Linked DNA regions of Homo sapiens: region 2 is linked to region 1. The links are contacts of gene promoters, found by promoter capture Hi-C in human tissues and cell types (Jung and others, 2019). All regions are on one chromosome and are shown on one strand. The core of a region is centred on a gene start or on the middle of the fragment in contact, and the rest is flanking DNA. Distances in the headings are between cores, read along the strand shown.

Region 1 (3,256 bases), core at 479-2,978:
TCCCAGAGCTGGACCCCTCAAATTAAGAAACTTAGTGTAGATAATTCGCTGAACTGGTTTCTGTTCAAATTTCTATGTCTAGAAGTGTAGAAATCTCAACTATTATGTTCTAATTCATCTTTATACTCTATGAAGAAAACTTCCCCAAAGACAGGTCACCTTGTTCAACTACATTTCAGAGAAGATAATAGTAAAAGTAAAAACTATGAATCTGACTTTTCTGGCATTAGTTTGAAACCCCTAAGCCACAAATAACTTTAATTAGCTTATTTCGAATTATCTATTAATGACAGATAGAAACAATTTTCTGTGAAATAAGAATGTAGAGGGAAAACCAGTTAATTTTTGTTTATGTATCTTTACAAACGGTCTATATTACAGATAAAGTTAATTGAATAAAGGCAAATATGCTGAAATTGTTGACAATTGTTAAATGAGAATATTCCTAAAATCTGAACTTTTTCTTGGGAAAGCAGTTCAAAACTATAGTCTATTTAATGAGGTGGCCATCTGGTGACAGAAAGAAGCACTACAGACAATATTTTGCATTAACATCACAACTATTCTACACAAACCGACTGAACCACATAAAAGAGAGCACAGTCCAAAAGAAACATAATTCAAGTCATACATGCAATTTAAAATTTATCTAACAGCCGCATTTTCAAAATAGAAACAATAATTTTAACAATATTTTTTATTTAACCCAATGTATCAAAAATATTATTTCAACATTTAATCAATATGAAGATTAATAACGAAAGAGTTTATTTTTTTCATACTAAGCCTTCAAAATACAATGCGTACCTTACAGCACATGTCAATTTGGACAAGCCACATTTCAAGCGATCATGGGCCCTGCGAGTCTGTGGGTAGCGGCTCACCCTGCTGGACTGCGCAGATCCAGAGAACGACACGAGACCTGCGGTTGCTTTGGTTTGCCTTTTACTAAGTTCATTTCTCAGCCTCTCTGCCCACTCTGAAAAGTCTCCCCTTTCCCCCCTTTTAATTCTACTCTATTTTGTAAATTACTGTTGTCTCCTGAAAATTTTGGAATGCTTAAAAGGCACTCAAAAGCCTGTCCGAGATCGACTAGAAGACCCTCGGAAGGTCCCTCTCTTCTCTGGACCTCACTGGGCGTTCGTTTGCCCGCGCCGTCCTTCCATTCGGCTTGCCGGGCGCGCAGCGGCTTGCGGCTGTGGTCAGCCACCTTCCCGGGAGGCGGTGGTCGCTGGCCGCGGGAAGGATGCCGCGCTGGGGGTCGGGGTTCGTCCCGGCTGTCACGCCACCTTGTGACATCACAGGGCCATGCCCTCGGGGCTCAAGGCCAGAGAGGCTCCGCGCTTCCAGGACCCGAGAGCTAAAGATAATGAATGGGAGAGAGCGAGACTGGAGGAGGTAACGAATAAGTCCCCACCACCTTGCCCATAACGCGTTGCTTTCAGTCACGTTCCGCGAACTGGCGAAGGTAAGTGAAAAGATAAGCGCAGGTACAGAAAAACCTGCCAGCGAGAAGCTCCCGCCGTTTCCCAGGAGCCCCAGGTGGGGTCTTCCGGTTGGACCCCTGCTTCCGCTGATTGGTTGGAGGTCGCCACCACGTGATGCAAACCCGGGTCGGCCTCCGCTTCCCCCCCACCCTTTTATCCCCCTCCCCGCCCCTTTTCTCCTCCTCCCCACCCGGAGGTCGCCGGAGGCGGAGATCAGGTTACCTAGGCAACCGCCACAGGCAGTCTGTACACACCAGGCCTGGGGCGGGAGAGGGTTTCCTACCTTCTGCTGCAAGACAGGGATTGGGAAATCGGAGTGGACTCGGACTTGAATCGGATTGCCCCGGAATCCACCCTCTCTCTGTGATAAGGTCAGAATCCGTCACCTGGTGGCCTTCGGGCGTACATCACCGGGAGTCTTTGATCCCCTCTTTTTCCTTCCAAGCCATACCAAGGGGAAGACGCCAGTGAAGCAAAGTTGAGGTCAAGGGAACTCCGTAATGGTGCAATGGTGATGATAATGATGAAAGACAGTGAGGTGGCTTTACTGAGGCAGTCAGGGTACCAGAACAAAGTTCAAGAGAAGGAAAGGGAGGGTGGCCTACAGCCAACTATGCAGATTTTACTGCACCAATTAAGATTCTGGGCTGGAAAAACCAAGTGCTCCCTAACCAAACCTGACACTGCTCATCTAGAGAGTGTAGGGGGTTTATTTGGACCATCAGTGGTAACTGATGGATTCTGATCCTTTTATACCCAAAGGAGGAAATAATTTGACCCATACAGGACTTCTACTGGGCAGAGAAAAAAAAAGTTTTCTCAGAATGACATCCTAACCAACTCTCACGGCAGACAGAAACCATGGTCCTTTTTACTCTATCATTATACTCTGGTCATGGAGAACGATTATGTCTTTAAATTATACCATATGCCTGTGGCATGACAATTAACCCATTAAACAATTTTTTTAACAACTAGCATGTGCCAGACAGTGAACCTGTGATAGGTTCACAGTTTCTGCCTTCAATGAACATGTAACCTAGTAGGGAAGAAAGGCCCGTAAACATTGTTTTACAGTGTGACAAGTGCTATACAAAGAGTATGTGCAAGCCCTAACCAGAATCACAAGAAAGAGAATGCTTATAATACTACCAGAGAGAATGAAAGTCTTCAAAGAGAAGATCTTTGATTTAAATCTTTAGGGAAGTATGGAGTATGCCATACAGCCAAGGGAAAAGGACATTTTAGGGAGAGGAAACAGCCCATGCCAAAGTACAGAAACATCCATTCAGTTCCAGAGAACTATAGTTGTGGCCTGAACCTAGGGTCCTCTGTGGAGGTTGTGGCTGATGAGCATGTGAGGTAGGCAGGAGTCAGAGCATGGAAACCATTAATACCTTCCAAAGGGGTAAAGCATGAGCAGATTTACCTTTCAGGAGGCTGTCACAGTAGTGTAGAGGATGAACTTGAGGGAAGACAGACTACAGGGAGGACATCAAGTTAAGGGGAGGTGATGAGGGCCTGAACCAAGGCAGAGGCAATTGGAATGAGGAGGAGGAAAAAAAATGTGGTAAGACCTTTAAGAGGTATATGCAGAAGGATTTAATGAGTGAATGAAAATAGGGGGATAGAGTCAAAGATTGGTTGAGGATAATAGCTCAACCAATAGAAGAATGGTGGTGTTACTTTTCAAGAGAAGGCATACATTAGGAGAAGGAGGCTGGTTGGAAAATATAATGAGTTCAATTTTGAACACACTGAATTTGAGA
Region 2 (3,648 bases), core at 637-3,136, 200 kb before region 1:
TTGGAATTGAAGTGGCAAGAATAACTGTCCCTAGAAATAATAAGTGCTGGAGCCACCAAGATTTGCAGCAATTCTATCCAAGGCTGAGAAGGAAACCCCACCACTCAGTGAAGCCACCATTTTAAAAAAAAAACATAGATCGATATGCAATTGGAACACTGCTAACTCTGTGACAGCTTCAGAAAGAAAAGCCATGAATTCAGCTGGCTGCTGGCAGCCTCATCCAGGGTTGCCTAGACCAGAAGAGCTCCTTCTATCACTGGGCAAAGTCTCATAAAAGTAGCTTAGTTGCTTTCAATAGTCTAAGGTGGGCTGGTTGCAGTGGCTCACGCTAGTAATTCCAGCATTTTGAGAGGCCAAGGCAGGCAGATCACTTGAGGCCAGGAGTTCAAGACCAGCCTGGCCAACACAGCAAAACCCTGTCTCTACCAAAAAATACAAAAATTAGCCAGGCATGGTGGTGCATGCCTGTAGTCCCAACTACTCAGTAGGCTGAAGCAGGAGAATTGCTTGAACCTGGGAGTGGAGGTTTCGGTGAGCTGAGATCGCGCCACTGCACTCCAGCCTGAGTGACAGAGTAAGACCCTATCTCAAAAAAAAAAAAAAAAATACTCTAAGGTGGAAAATCGATGTCTCCATCTAAGTATTTCCATGGCATAGCACATACCAACACAGGAGTCACACTTTATCCAGCAGTTACTGGTCCATCTTGTTGAAAGCTGACAAAGAACAGCAGCTTCAGTGGAGGGGCATAGAGCTCAAGTGGAATCTAACACCTGTATTGTGAAAGAAAGAGACTTTCCAAGAATCTTTATAGCCCGGTATATTAATACAGTCTCATGAAAGTGAACACATACAGGACTAGGGTATAATGACTTTTTTTTTTTAGAATTATGAGAAGAAAGTAAATGGGTCATACTTATTTTGGTTCCCTCCCAAATATTTTAGGACAGAAGTAATATCTAGTATAATAATGAAAAGTGATAACAAACATCATAAATGCTAGACAGATGAAAATCTATTCTATTTGAGAAGACCTCCACCTGGTAGCCATCCCACAAATCACCCCTCCAAGGAAAAGACAGGTTTTCCCCTGCCACAAGGGGCTGAGCCCTCCAGCCTCAAGCTGCTGTAGCTGCTATACACAGAGGAGGCCATGGGTGAGCAGGCTGCAGAGGCCTGCCTCCCAGGGCACAGACAGGTACCTCTCTAACAGAAAGAGATAGAAACAGCTGAGTCCCCCTCAGCATCTTTAATTTAAAAGCATGATATGTCTAAGTCATGCTCACCAACAAGTTTTCTTAGAAGGTCTGGGCTGCTTAGCTCATCTGTTTACAATAGAAATTCTCAAGCTTCAGTGTGATTATTAAAAGTGCAGATGTATGCCCCAGCCAGTTCTCATTCTGTAGTTTCGAGGTGGGGGTAGATTGAGAATCTGAATTCTGAACAAGCACTCCAAAAGGTGCTGAGGTACCTGGTCCCCAAGCAACACTTAAGTCCTTGCTAGCTTAAAGAAATATTTCTCAATCTGGGTCACTGGTTGTGTACTTTAGGGTTCCAAAAAGAGAATTTCATTTTTGTATTTTTATTTTGATATTAATTTTTCAAATAGTAAGAACACTCTGGATCACCTGGGTGATAATTTTATAACCAAACACTACTGCAAGACTTCTACTGAAGTATTTACAGTCAGGTCGGCACCGAGTACCTTTAACTTTGTCTCAGGCTAATGAGTCTTTACTTGGATCCAGACTTAGTTCTTCTAAATGATTTTGTTGCTCTCCAATGGATGGATGGATGAAAATTCATTTTACTCAACTCCCTGTTGGTGTTTTTTCCAACTTTTTCATTACTATGAAAAACGAGATAAGAAAGATATTCATATGTATCTTTCTAACTCTATTTACACATGTGTATAATTTATATATTTTTGCCCACCTGCTATAGCATTTCTATGGGATAAATTCCTAACAGTATTCAAAAAGTATGAGAACTTAGAACTGTAAGAGGGTTAGAGTCCTGGAGGTTGAGTGTTCACACTCAATGACATCACTTCATTTGCTCAGGAAGGGAACAGAGGAAGGAAAAGAGCAAATTTTGATAAATTAACATGGACATACGGAATTTGGGAGGTCTATGGGATGTCCAATACACAGTGAGGGAAATCGGCTTGGAGTTTAGAAAAGAGGATTTCTTCAAAGCAAGAGATTTGAGAAGTGTCACACATAAAGCAGTGCCTGAAAACCTGCATGGGTGACAGCAGCTTTGACAGCAAGGATAGGCAGGAGGAAGAAAGACAAGGATAGAACTCAGGGACAACACAGAGGAACTGGAAGGGTGGTAGCAAAAGAGACTGGAAAAGAGGTCAGAGAGTAAGAGGAGAACCAAGAAAGAGAAACATCAGTACGATAAGGGAGGAAAAAGTTCTGAGAAGGAGTGAACGATTTCCATGAGAGCTGATATTGTCCCTAATTTTATTGTTAAATGACATAAGTTACAAAACAGTATGTTCAATATAATGTTACTTTTTCAGTGAAAAACTATATATTCCTGAATACTTAAAGAAATTCTTGAAGAACAAGAACAACAATAAAAAAAAAACAATACAAAGGCCTGTAGTGACGTGTGAGAATTAGGGATGGGAGGGTTGAGTAGGGAACTTTTAACTTTTTTTTTTTTTTTTTGAGACAAGGTGTCTTTCTTTGTTGCACAGGCTGGAGTGCAGTGGTGTGATCAAAGCTCACTGCAGGCCCGACCTCCTGGGCTCAAGTGATCCTCCCACATCAGCCACCTGAGTAGCTGGGACTACAGGCATGCACCACCACACCCAACTAATTTTTGTATTTTTTGTAGAGATGGAGTTTCATCATGTTGCGTAGTCTGGTCTTGAACTCCTGGGCTCAAGTGATTCACCAGCCTTGGCCTCCCAAAGTGCTGGGGCTACAGGTGTGGGCCACCATGCCCAGACTCTTTAACTTTGAATTCTGTGCCATTTTGTACAGTTTGAATTTATTACAACAAATATACATTACTTTATTATTAACGTTTTAAGGACTGATCAGCAGTATGATATTAGATTACCAGAGAGGACAAGAAAGATGAGATTGAAAAGAGGCCATTTGTTTGGCAAGAAGACAGTCAGTTTCAAGTAGGAATATGAAAGCATACTGCCATCGTCTAAAACCCTGCTACCCTGGCCGAGTGCGGTGGCTCACGCCTGTAATCCCAGCACTTTGGGAGGCCAAGGTGGGTGGATCACAAGGTCAGGAGATCAAGACCATCCTGGCTAACATGGTGAAACCCCATCTCCACTAAAAAAAAAAAAATACAAAAAATTAGCCGGGCGTGGTGGTGGTGGGCGCCTGTAGTCCCAGCTACTCGGGAGGCTGAGACAGTAGAATGGCGTGAACCTGGGAGGCGGAGCTTGCAGTGAGCAGAGATGCTCCACTGCACTCCAGCCTGGGCAACAGAGCGAGACTCCGTCTCAAAATAAATAAATAAATAAAAATAAATTAAAAAAAATAAAACTCTGCTTCCCAAGCTTTAAAGTGTATAAGAATCACATATGCACTTATGCACAGGGGATCTTGATTCAGTACGTCTTGGAAGCAGCCTGAGATTCCCCATTTCTAACAACCTCCCACATAA

What was found. Contacts are between HindIII fragments. The study calls those that stand out against the background at their distance.
Region 2: a fragment that was not itself captured here is called in contact with the fragment with the promoter of LRRC9 in region 1 in 1 of the 25 tissues and cell types used here (dorsolateral prefrontal cortex).

What each region holds. Positions count from the first base shown.
Region 1 is chr14:59,918,416-59,921,671 of GRCh38, forward strand. It overlaps LRRC9 (leucine rich repeat containing 9), which reads left to right and starts at 1,729. Exons shown (of 33, transcript NM_001395648.1): 1 at 1,729-1,858. RefSeq lists an enhancer at 889-2,088. The HindIII fragment of the contact is 18,773 bases long and covers 1-3,256 here.
Region 2 is chr14:59,720,130-59,723,777 of GRCh38, forward strand. The region is part of intron 3 of RTN1 (reticulon 1); the gene reads right to left. Among named protein-coding and RNA genes, the nearest start is that of MIR5586, 75 kb to the left of the region's middle. The HindIII fragment of the contact is 4,104 bases long and covers 1-3,648 here.